Linked DNA regions of Homo sapiens: region 2 is linked to region 1. Evidence: promoter capture Hi-C in 16 types of primary human blood cells and fetal thymus (Javierre and others, 2016). All regions are on one chromosome and are shown on one strand. The core of a region is centred on a gene start or on the middle of the fragment in contact, and the rest is flanking DNA. Distances in the headings are between cores, read along the strand shown. Region 1 holds the start of LINC00092 (long intergenic non-protein coding RNA 92). Region 2 has its middle 3.7 kb from the start of PTCH1.

Region 1 (5,755 bases), core at 1,632-4,131:
CTTCTTTCTACAGATATCTTTTTCGTTAGCTAAATAGGCCTCGCAGTCTCGTTGAAAGAAATAACTAAAACTCACTTTATGTTGTTTCAGTTTATCTGGCAGGGGGAAAAATGCGTGTGCAGCTCTGAATTTCTAATACGTCTCTAAGGAAACTCCAATGAGTTGTCTTGTCAGACTAAAATGTCTGGCAACTAAAATTATTGGCCTCCCTACATTTTTTAACTTTGAATTTTCTTAATTTTTTTGTAAAGTGGGATATGTTTCTGAACTGAAAGAAACTTCAAAAGAAGCCTCATAATAGCTAATTCATATTTTCTCTTCTTTCCTAAAACTATTATAAAAGCACTAATGGGAACAAAACAATTATTTTTCAAAATATAAATGCCAGGATGCACCATATGAGAAGCCCCCAGCCCCCTCTGCTTGCCTCCCAGCACCCGCATTGTGCTCCAGTGTTCAGCTTTCTCTTCCTCTCCGTCCACCACTCCCTGCCCTCTCTTCCCACTGCCAGTACCTAAGTGGCCTTCCTTCACCTGTGCCTGGCAAAGCCCTAGGTTCCTTCCATGTCACCCCTGACTCCTGAATCGACAGCTCCCTCTCTCAGCTTCCTGCTCACCAAGCTCAATGGAGCCTCAATGACCTGCCCACTGTTGCCTGAGGCAGCACTCTCACTGTCCCAAGACCCCATCACACCTTCACCTTGCTGGGACCTCCTAACTCCCTCAGCTTCCCCTACTCCACATTGGGGGTGTATCAGTCCATTCTCACGCTGCTATGAAGAAATACCCGAGAAATACCTGGGTTAATTTATAAAGCAGTTTAATTGGCTCACAGTTCCTTATAGCTGGGGAGGCCTCAGGAAGCTTACAATCATGGAGGCAGTTCACGTGAAGGGGGAAGAAAGGCACCTTTCTCACAGGGTGGTGAGAGAGAGGAAGGGGGACGGGGAAAGCCCTTTATAAAAGCATCAGATCGGCTGGGCACAGTGGCTCACGCGTGTAATCCCAGCACTTTGGGAGGCCGAGGCAGGCAGATCACAAGGTCAGGAGTTCCAGACCAGCCTAACCAACATGGTGAAACCCTTTCTCTACTAAAAATACACATTAGCCGGGCGTGATGGCGCGCACCTGTAATCCCAGCTACTCGGGAGGCTGAGGCAGGAGAATCTCTTGAACCCGGGAGGCAGAGGTTGCAGTGAACCAAGATCGCGCCACTGCACTCCAGCCTGAGTGACAGAGTGATACTCCGTTAAAAAAAAAAATCTTGTGAACTCACTGTCACGAGAGCAGCGTTCAGGAAACCACCTCCATGATTCAATTACCTCCACCTGGTCCCGCCCATGACACGTGGGGATTATTAAAATTCAAGGTGAGATTTGGGTGGGGAAACAGAGCCAAACCATATCAGGGGGCCAGGCCTTCAGCAGGTGGATAAGATGGGAGGAGTTCTGAAATACACACCCGGGATGCTCCAGAGGCCAAATCATAGGGCAGGTCATCCCAAGGACAGCAGTTAATTCACTGACATGCCAGCAAAGGGCAAACCGAATCGGCCCCGCGGAGCCCAGGTAGGGGCGCCGCTCACCTCCTAAAATGCCCTCAAAGACCCCTTAGGGCACAGCCATATGCTGAGACATGTTGGGGTGGACAAGCAGGTCTCAAGAAGCTTAGAATGTCCCCTAGGTGGACGCTAAGGGACAAGGCCCACCGAGGAAGGCAGCTGCAGATGATGGAATGCCCTCCCAATGGCGGGAACAAGCAAGGCTTCCGCAGCTCAAAAGGAGAAACATGCTTTGCGCTGGAGTCCTCAGAAAAGGCCACTTCCAAACTGTGGGGATGGGGAGTGGACGGGCCTAAGAGAATGGGAAGGCAGAACACCCCTTCTCCAGTCTCCCTTGGCCGTTAAAACCCCAGAGCAGCAGCAACGTGGGCTGTTTGGTGCGGAGGTTCCTGGTTTGGGTTGGCCAGGCGTAGAGTGCTTCCGACAATTCACCCACCCTCCAAGACGCGCGGGCCGGGGAGCGGGGAGAGGGCGGAGGGAACGGCGCACCGGGCCCCGTCGGACTGTTGGACCAAAAGTCCTCAGTGTCGGGGGCTCGCAGCGCCGCCGCGGCGAACCCAGCTAGGGGGCACCGCCTGCGCCGGGCACAGGGAGGCCGTTCGGCTTTCCCCCTCGCGCCCATTACTCTCAGGCGTCCCGGGGAACCCCGCGGGCCAAGTGTCGGGCTGCGTCCGGGCAGAGGCGGCTTCGCCTGGTGTCAGCGCGTTTCCGAAGGGCACCCGCGGCGGGGCCCACAACTCGAGCTGGGAGCCGCCCCAAGCAACCCGTTCCTCCGAATCAGGCTGCTTTTCTCTGTAAAGAAAAGAGAAAGCAAGCGATTAACTGATGGCTTGGCCGGCTGGAAACGGGAAAGCGAGTTCTCCAGGAGCCGCACACCTCGGGGAAGCCCAGTCCCTCCCGGGCAGGGAGCGAGGGGCGGTCCTGGGGGCTGCTTCCCGCGGGGAGAGAAGGGAGGGCGGCGCAGCCCTCTGCGGGGTCCGCCCCTCGGTTCTCCGGACCCCCGCGGCCTGGGGGACACGGGGCAAATTCTCGGATAGCGACGGGCAGGAAGGGGACCCGGGCTGGCGATGGGCCGAGTGCCTCCTTTGCTCTCACCCCCGCGCGAAGACGAGGCCAGTGGGCGGGTGGCGTGGGGCGAGGCCTCCGCAGGCCGCCGGGGGCCCAGGCACCTGGAGCCGGGAGGGTCCGCTCCCTTCCCCGCCCTGGATGGCGGCCTATGGGAAAGCAGTCTCCACTGGATCCCGCGCGCGTCGCGCCGAGGTCGTGGGAAACCGAGGGCGGGAGGGCGGGAGGGCGGAGGCGCCGGCAGGGTCGGCGGGACTGGGGCTCGGACGGAGGACAGGGGCGAGGAGGAGGCAGGAAGGACGCCGGGTACTGCGGGGCGCCTAGGGGGTTCCGAGCGCAGCGGCTGCGGGGCCGACCCGCCCAGGATGGAATCAGGGCCCCGGCGCCCCCACGCCGCTCCTCCAGGCCGAACCCCTGCGGCCCCAATCCCCCGGCCTCACGCCCACCCCGCAGGTCGGCCCTGCAGCTGCCTTCCCTTCCTCCACCTCCCTCCCGCCTCCGAAGCCGGCGCCCCCGGCCAAGTGGCCGCTCTCAACCTGTTACCAAGTCCTAGAGAGAATTTCTCCAAAATATTTCCTGGATCCCCCTGCCAAGGGCCCTGTCCCGCCCTTCCAGCTCCCAACTGGATGCCTGCAGACCTCTCCCCGGGTTCCGAGGCTCTGGCCTCCTCCCTCCCTAATCCATTTTCCACACCGCTTCCCCGGGAGCCCGTTAAAATACACCGGGACCGCGGCGGGTGCAAGCCTCCTGTATCTCCACATAGCAGGCTAAGGGGAATTGGGTAGGGAATAAAGGCTGCAGGGGACATCGGCTGGCAGGTATGAAGCCCGTATTGTGTGTCGTTTGTTAAACACTTCCAGTGGATTTTCTCGTTTAATCTGCCCAACAACGCTTCTGGGCCGGTATTCGTATTGTTTTATAGAGGGAGAAACTGAGGCACAGAGGGGCACTCGGCTTGTAAGCAACGGAGTAATTCAGAGCCCGTCAGCCCCACGCCGAGTTTATTCACCCTGGCAGGGGCTTCCGCGGGAGCCATGACCCTTCCTAACTGGGGTGGAAGGACCCGCAGCGCCAGCCGGGTCCGGGCCAGACGGCAGCGAGTGTCTGTTAATAGGGATGCTGAATGGGTCAGGCAGTGGGGCACAGGTTCAGTGTGATCTGGAATGCCTGCGAGGCCCCCTTGCTCATCCACCTGCCTTTAATGGATGGGTGGTCTGAGTTTCTGGAGATGGGCAAGATGGAGCAGTCTCCACACTTGGCTCTTCAGCCCCGGCGCCCCCCACAGCCGCCTCTGCTTTCCTGGAGATACCGCAGGCTCCTAACCTCAGGCCGGCTTGTGCTGCTCCACCCTCTCCCTCCCCCACAGACACAGGCCACTTAGCGCGCTCTCCCGTCCCTCACCCCTGCCAACAGCAGCCACTTCTGGCCACTTCCTTTACATGTGAATGAGTCCAGGTCTGGGCTGCCTTTGTCCGGGGAGGCCGGTGGGATTTCCATCAATAATTGTTGGTTGGTGAGTCAGGGGTCAGCAGTGGTCTCCTTTCCAGGACCCAGAAATGACACCACAAGGGTAACTGGCCACTATTTCCTGCCTAGGAACTAGCAGCATCCCACCCCCACCACTCCATGGCCTAGATAAGACAGGCCAAGACCCCAGAGACAACAGGACTCTGGAACAGGGAAGGGATTTATGATTAGCATAGGCTCTAGTTAAATTCCTTTTTTTATTTCTGTGCATTGACCTATTATGTAATATGCTTTTTTCTTCCTGGAATACAGATCCTACCAGTGGTTTTATTCCTTTTTTATATAATGTTTAATTCATCTGTCTCTGTAAATCCATCACATGAAATTGAAAGGGTCTCAAAGAGCAGACTGTTTCCCCCCTAACTCTTCCACTATTCAACCCAGGGGCAAGCACTGTCATCCCTCACTGCTACCAGCTTCTGGTCAGTCTTTCTGGCCACACGTATGTAGACATGCTTCATTCTTTTAACTGTGTTTTTGATGTTTTCTATATTAACACCAAAAAAAAGTACACTAAGAAATCAGTGCTATTTCCGAATGGAGCCCGGAGTTTCTCAGCACTGCGCTCCTCCAGTGCCAGAAGCACCCTACTTCTCTTCCTCAGTTGCTTCATCAATCACATGGGGCTGGGGCAGTGAGGAGGATGTATTTGCCTCACATAGAGACTTAAAGGTTTTCCTGATCTCCTCTGGGTACAGAACAAGAAATTAAGGATGATCTGAAATATACAGGGCTTGGATAAGACTTGAAACAATTGTGATGATAGGAATTGCTGGGTTCTGGAACCGAGGATTGCAGTAACCAGGGGCTCAGAAAGCTGAGATATCCCTCCAGTGAAAGGGGACCCGGGAGCATAACTGAACAAAAGTCATTTCTCTTCCTCATGATGGGTATTTCTCTTTTTCTGGTGAGAAGTGTCAGTATCAGCATTTATCTGCTGGAGACTGTTTAAATGTTAGGTGTACTTAGCAACGTTGCATCTATTTTTCTTAAACACGAATCACTTTCCAGAAGGGAACCGAAATGACCACCTCTAAAAGTTGCTACTAACTATTGCTCCAGAAACCAAAGTGATGCCACTCACATGGCTGGCCATAGTCTAATTTCTTCACAAACAGAGGCAGAGCAGCTTGCACCACGTAACCCCAAAGCTTTTCTGTAACTGATCAGAAGTTCCTTTCTCCACCCTTTAGCAGAGGTGCTGGTGACCAGGGAAGAGGAGAAGGTAAAGAGCAGAGTGAATGAAGGGAAGTAGGGGACATAGATTCTTTAAAGTCTGGGTAATCAATCCCAATGTATTCAAGAGAGACCTCAACTTGCTTTCCTAGATGGGACGTGGTGGCCCACGGCATCCATAGCAAACCACTCTCTTCTTGGATAGTTGGCTCCCAGACTTGAAGGCTGTGCTCCTTGCTGTCCTCGGACCTCTCCAGCGGTCTCTTTCTAGTTTCCTTGGTGGGCTCCGCCTCCTCCTCCTCACCTTGTCCCTTGGATTTCCCAGGGAGCTATCCCCAATCTAGGGTTAGTCTCATGCACCCACCATATTCTAGGGGCCCCTCCACTCACTCTCATGCTTTTAATGAATTCATTTATGGGTGATCAG
Region 2 (5,755 bases), core at 1,813-4,312, 510 kb before region 1:
ATCCAGACACCGAAGCAGTCTTGTAGAGGCAGAGGCGTTTTTATTTGAATCTCGAATGTGACATAAGTAAAAGAGAAACAACAGAATCTTTTTTTACAACTTAGAGAAACGGAATTGTTTCCTTGAGAGAGTAAAGTTTTCCTGATTATTTTGGGTTCATTTGTACACCCCTTTTTATTAACCAGATGTTTATATAGTCAGTATTTTTTTTTACAAAACTCGGTATGCATGTTATATTTAATAATAGTATGACGTAGGAGATTATAAATGCCCCGATGCTGGATTCATTGAAAACAAACTGTGCGCGGATCGCGAGGATTCGTCCCGACACCGCGTCCAGTGTCACCAAGGCATCCCGGGGATTCGCTTCCCGCGGAGGGGGAAAACACGCGACCCTTTGAGGTGGATTCTGGAGCCAGACACGTCTACACAACTAGGCTTTTTATTTAAAAAAATTTTTGTTTTCGGAAAGTGGAATGTGTTTTTCTTACGTTTCCAAGTTATTACGTTCCTCCCTGCGGTAGGAACCCGACCCGCAAACCCTTGATTTGCTTCACTTTATTTTTTTTTTTAAACGGGGTTGAACTGCAGAGGGACTGGCAGTAGCGAGAAGTCTAGTGAAGTCGTGAAATGGGGCGGTGTGGCTTTAAGATGCGCACGGTGTATGTTCATTGAAAAAAAAAGAAGAAAGAAAGGAAAGGAAAGAAAGAAACCCAGATGGAGGGAAAGGGGGAGGAGCAGGGAGAAGGCGGAGCTCCGGTGGCCACGTGACCCCGCGCCAGGAGGCCCGGTGCGCGCGCGCGCCCGGCTCCCGGACTCCCCGCGCCCGCGCGGCCGGGGCAGAGTAGGTAGGGAGGCGGATGCGCCGGGCCGGCTCCGGGCCTCCAGCGCGGTCTCCCGAGAGCCCAGGCGAGGCGCGCGCCCAGCCGGCGCGGACGGACGTGCCGGACGCGCCGTAGTACATTCCTGAAGGCGGACCGGCCCCCTTACGCTGCCCAATGCCCGCGCCGCCTCCCCGCGACCGGCCAATGGTCGCGCTCACGAGTCCCTGCCCATTCAGCGGCCCCGCGCTGGCTGCCCGGGCGCGCTGGGGGCTGCGGCGGGGCGCGCCGGCCACCGGGGCGGTCCACGCGGCTCCCGCAGGGGGCCCGTCCGCCGGCTCTCCCCGCCCCCTTCCTTCCTCCCCGGCGGTTTCCCCTCCCCGCTTCCTTCCTTCGGCCTGCGCCTTCTCCTTCCTCCCTCGCCCCGCTCCCTCCCTCAATCTCCCCTCCCCCACCAGCCTGGCCACCTTCCCTCCAGCCTCTCCTCCTCCCCGGCTTCAGGGGGAGGCCCTTCCCCCGACCCCCTAACCCGCAAACCGTATGCGGTGCCGGGGTCAGGGCGGGATGTCCCGAGGAAGAGAGGGAGACGGGGTGGAGGTGTTTGGGGGCGTTCGCGGGATCCGGAGGGGGACCTGAGCACCGGGCCAGCGCGGAAATTCAAAACTCAGACCGCTTAAGGAGCACGTGATTTTGTGAGTGCCTCAGGGAAGGGCTGCGGAAACTCGGAAAGCAGGCGGGCAGCATGCGAGGAAAATGACACTGAGTTGATAAAGAGCTCAGACGGCTCCACACATTGCCAGTTTCATCTTTGAGTACGATCCTGATGTTTATTAGGTTTGATAAATAGCACAAAACAGGAAAAGAGGTTTACTATTCTAGCTTTTCTTACTGAATGGTTATGCCGACACTTCAAGTCGAACCATTGTGTGTTTGCTTCTGGAAATTGCTTTTTAAAAACTGGGGGAGGGGGGTAGTACCCCTAGTTTTGCATGTTAGCCTTTTTATATTTCAAGCTTGCTGGAGGGCAAGGAACCATATAGCCAAAGACACGTTGCTATGTTTGTCTTTTCAAACTTCTCCACCACGTTTTGGCCCAAAACTATTAGTGTTTCGTCTCAATCTTTTACTAGAGGGATTTCAGTATAGCTTGTTTGGAAGAAGGAATTCTGGAAGGAAATGGTAAGCTGTGTGCCCGTAATGGATCCGCCTCACTCTCCGCACGCGGCTGCATGTCCTCTGGTTCCGGCGGCTGCCACATGCACGTCATTTCAGTGGCAAAGCCTCTTCCACTCAGGCCCATATCCCTTAGTTTGACTTAATTCCTAAACGTTTTGAACATTGATCCCCGGAGCTTTCAGTGCCCTGAGCCCCCTCGCCCGCTGTTTGATGGGTTAACTTTTCAGCATCTCAGACAATGGTCCCGGCCTGTAAATTCTACCCGTGGGTTCCAGGACGCACTCCGGAGCCTCGGCTCTAACGAGCGCTATCTTAATCTCCCCACCCCCCACCCGCCGCTTCCCCTGTGGTCTGCTTTTTTCATACTTAGAGATGAATTACTTTGAGGATCTAATTGGCCTTGTTTCTGTAACGTTTTAAGAAAGGGAAGAGGAGCCAGTGTAAAAGCCTGCTCGACTTGGGTGGTCAGGGCTGAGGCTGCCCCCAATTTGCCTCATTGCTGATGCATGCGAGTGCGACATTCCCAGCGATAATGTTGTTCCTAATCAATCTGCCCTTATTTACATTTGTAAGCATTGTCGGCTTTAATATGCATGCCCTGTGCAGGGGACTGCTGTGCCACACCGGGTTTGTTAACTTCAACTAACCACAAGGATTCCACAGATCTGAGATGCAGACTGGGGCAGCCAGACCTGCTAAGGTGTCCTCCGGGAAGACAGTCCCTTTAAATGGCCCTTCTGCCTCTGGCACCCCTTGTGACAGTTACCAAATAAAAATAAGTGAGAACTTGGGGCCTTATCAGCCAGCAGGAGTTGCCAGCCTTTATGAAGCAACAGCTGAGTGTTCCATTTCCCCTTTCCAAGTAAAGTTCATCTCAATGCATAAATTGTCATTTTGGTCTCCCAGTCATGATCCAAGACTTCTCATTGGAGTGTGTAGTTTTCAAAGCAGATGCCTTAAGCTCTCCGGATTCCCTCACATCTCCTCCCTTCTCTGTTCCAATACTACAAATATCCATGGCCACACCACACACATTTCAAAAATGACATCAGATTATCCAAATGATGACAATGAAATAAAACATCTGCCCTTTGTGTTGGGATGTTCCAATGGTAAGCAATTGTGGAAGCCAGACTTGGTGGAGTTATGAAAAACCACAGTGAGATTTAACTTTTCACTGGTTTCTCAGATCAAACCAAATGAGTCTTTAAAATCCAATGTAATTTGGCAAGTTTTGCAGAGTATAAATGAATAAAGGGGTTAATGTATTCCAGTAATTTGACCCTGGGGCCATTTATAATTTTGTCTACTGAGTTTAATACTCTTCCAGAAATACAAGGAATTGCAAACATGATTTTAAGTCCTACAGTATTTTTGTTGAGAGGGTCGGATGGAGAGAGGAATTGGGGATTTGATGCAATATTCTTTTACTGCATGGGGAGCCCAGGATACAGGATGTGAGTGATGGTCAAGGCAGGGCTTCAGCAGTTCCAAGCAGGTACCTTGAATATGAGTTGAGTCGACTCAACTCAAGCCAATGTGCCACCATCCACCACATTTTCTTGGCTCCCTAAGAATGCCTTACTATTTTCTCATTGGCAGCTTTTGTATATTCTTAAAAGGTGATGGTAGAAAATGAGTCTAAAAGGTTTCAGGGAAGTCGGGGACGGGGTGGGGGGAGATTCAGCAGCTACAAAATTTAAAACTACTGGGCTTGACTCCCCTCCCCTACTCCCTTCCACCTTCTGTTTCCTCCCCTTATTTACCCCCTCCCCAGGCTGGAGGAAAGGGAACAGCTCTAGCCAACTTGTCAAAATAATGCTGCTAATTACCCCTGATCTCCTTTAATGGGAAGCTGCTCCTAACTCCACAAAGGAGTAAATGAGGGGTCTACAGCACAAACCCGGGAGCACTGGCATTTTTTGAGCTTACAGTGAGCTGGGGGTGGGGAAAGCGGCAGAGGGGAGTGTCCTGAGAAGGTCCCAGAAATCTCCACATTGATTACTCCAGGTCTAAATACTAGCTTGAAAGGGGAATTAGACTTTATGTATTGCCAAAAGCTATTGGTATTCTCTTGCTAAGCATGTCACCAACTGCTGAATGTTCAGAGCCTACTATGAACTTGAAAGAAAACAGAGCATTGACCCCTGCATTGATCCCTCTCTCTCCAAATATATTCTTACCCACATTGCTTTCCTCTCATGGATAGAGATGTATTCCTACAACACCCAGACTTTGAACATGTTTTGCATCCTTCCCTCTCCTCGCCTCTCCCTGTCTAATATATCTCTATCAAGCTTTGCGTTTGCTAGGAGGCACACCATTCATTTCAGTGATCTCTGCTATTGGGTCCTGCATGAAAAAGAAGCTGAGCAACATGATCCCTTTGACCCACTGCTGGAGCAACAAATTTATCAGAAATATAGGCATGAGAAATGAAAGGGAAGTAAAACAATTCCAGCTTATTGTGTGTCTTTCTTTCATACTGCTAATCCGGTTTACACATCACGCCTACACGTCTCAATAGGGCATTATACACTGTGGCAGAGGCTGGAGAAAATAAAAGGTGTGTGTGTGTGTGTGTGTGTGTGTGAGAGAGAGAGAGGAATGAGGATAAAAACGGGAGACATATTTTAATCCACATTGATTAACCTCATCAGTTTATCTATCTGTAGAAAGTTGAAGATAATTTTGTAAAACAGCCTTTTTCTTTTCAGAAAATAATTCCAAATGGTTCTAAGTTTTGTTCAAATAGCTTCAAAGATTATGACTACTTTATAACCAGAAATTAGATACACCACTCACAGTGAGTTTGAAATGAAGCTAATACCCCAAATTGAGAATGGCGGGGCCTATTGATGTCTACCTTGATTCAACATTTTAATTGAAACAGATCATGGACTCAAAGGCATTTTATAGCCTTGTGGAAGGAAGCTGGGTGACAACTGGAACACACATAAACTCACAATCGAAAGCCCCTTGTTTTACAACTTGGGCACTCCATGCACCTGAGGCAACAATTTATCCGGAGTACCACCCAGAAATTTTAAGTTGCAATAACAAAGGATGACACCATAAAGCATTGTCTTTCTTTGTGGAGGCGATTAATTGCATGCTGAACTACTGTCGCCAATAAACACAGAAATAAATAAAAACCTAAAAGAAATGCACACACACAGAATGCTGAAAAAGGACTATTGTGGTAGTTCAAGACCTCAGTGATCCAATTATCAAATATTTAGAGCCACCCATTGTGGCTCTTTATTATTTATGTCTAGTTCTTTTGTATTTCTCCTCCCCAGGGAGGAAGAAAGGATAAAAAGGGAGGAAGACGGTCTTCTCTCCCAGGTGCAGGAAAACAGGTCTGTGGGTGTCTTCCACAGCCGCCCACCCATATGGTTCTTCTTAGGTGATGGAAACAGATCAGTTTCCCTGAGAGTGTGCTCATCCACACGCTAGCATCATTTTAAACATGAACGTACTAAATACGTGGAGACACAGCGCATGTCACCCAGAGGCACAGTTTCTGGGGGTCTTGGGGTTCAGCGCTGGGCCCGGGCCTGTAAAGTGAGAATCGGTCCGGCCCGCCCCCGGGCTCCCCTGAGGCCGCACTCTGCACTCTAAGCACTGGGCTGGTCGCCCATCTCTGTAAGGGTGGCAGCCACCCAAGCGCCTGAATCGGTGGGCATAAGAGTCACACACACCACCTCTCTTACCCACCGCCCCTTCCAGAACTCCAAAAGCCTCTCTGGCCCTTT

Evidence for each region. Contacts are between HindIII fragments. The CHiCAGO score rates a contact against its expected background, and 5 or more counts as called.
Region 2: a contact is called between a fragment that was not itself captured here and the fragment with the promoter of LINC00092 in region 1, in 6 of 17 cell types (non-activated CD4 T cells, endothelial precursors, naive CD4 T cells and 3 more). The highest score is 6.8, in non-activated CD4 T cells.

The regions. Positions count from the first base shown.
Region 1 is chr9:96,018,930-96,024,684 of GRCh38, forward strand. It overlaps LINC00092 (long intergenic non-protein coding RNA 92), which reads right to left and starts at 2,882. Exons shown (of 2, transcript NR_024129.2): 1 at 2,656-2,882; 2 at 803-2,352. LOC105376159 (a long non-coding RNA gene) reads right to left here. Exons shown (of 2, transcript NR_188619.1): 2 at 4,331-5,755. It also overlaps a transcript of ERCC6L2 not described here. RefSeq lists a silencer at 2,062-2,111 and enhancers at 2,322-2,371, 3,804-4,304. The HindIII fragment of the contact is 3,638 bases long and covers 1,664-5,301 here.
Region 2 is chr9:95,510,059-95,515,813 of GRCh38, forward strand. It overlaps a transcript of PTCH1 not described here. Among named protein-coding and RNA genes, the nearest start is that of PTCH1, 3.7 kb to the left of the region's middle. RefSeq lists enhancers at 611-1,374, 1,375-2,136, 2,002-2,974 and silencers at 738-1,177, 1,398-1,447. The HindIII fragment of the contact is 2,460 bases long and covers 1,833-4,292 here.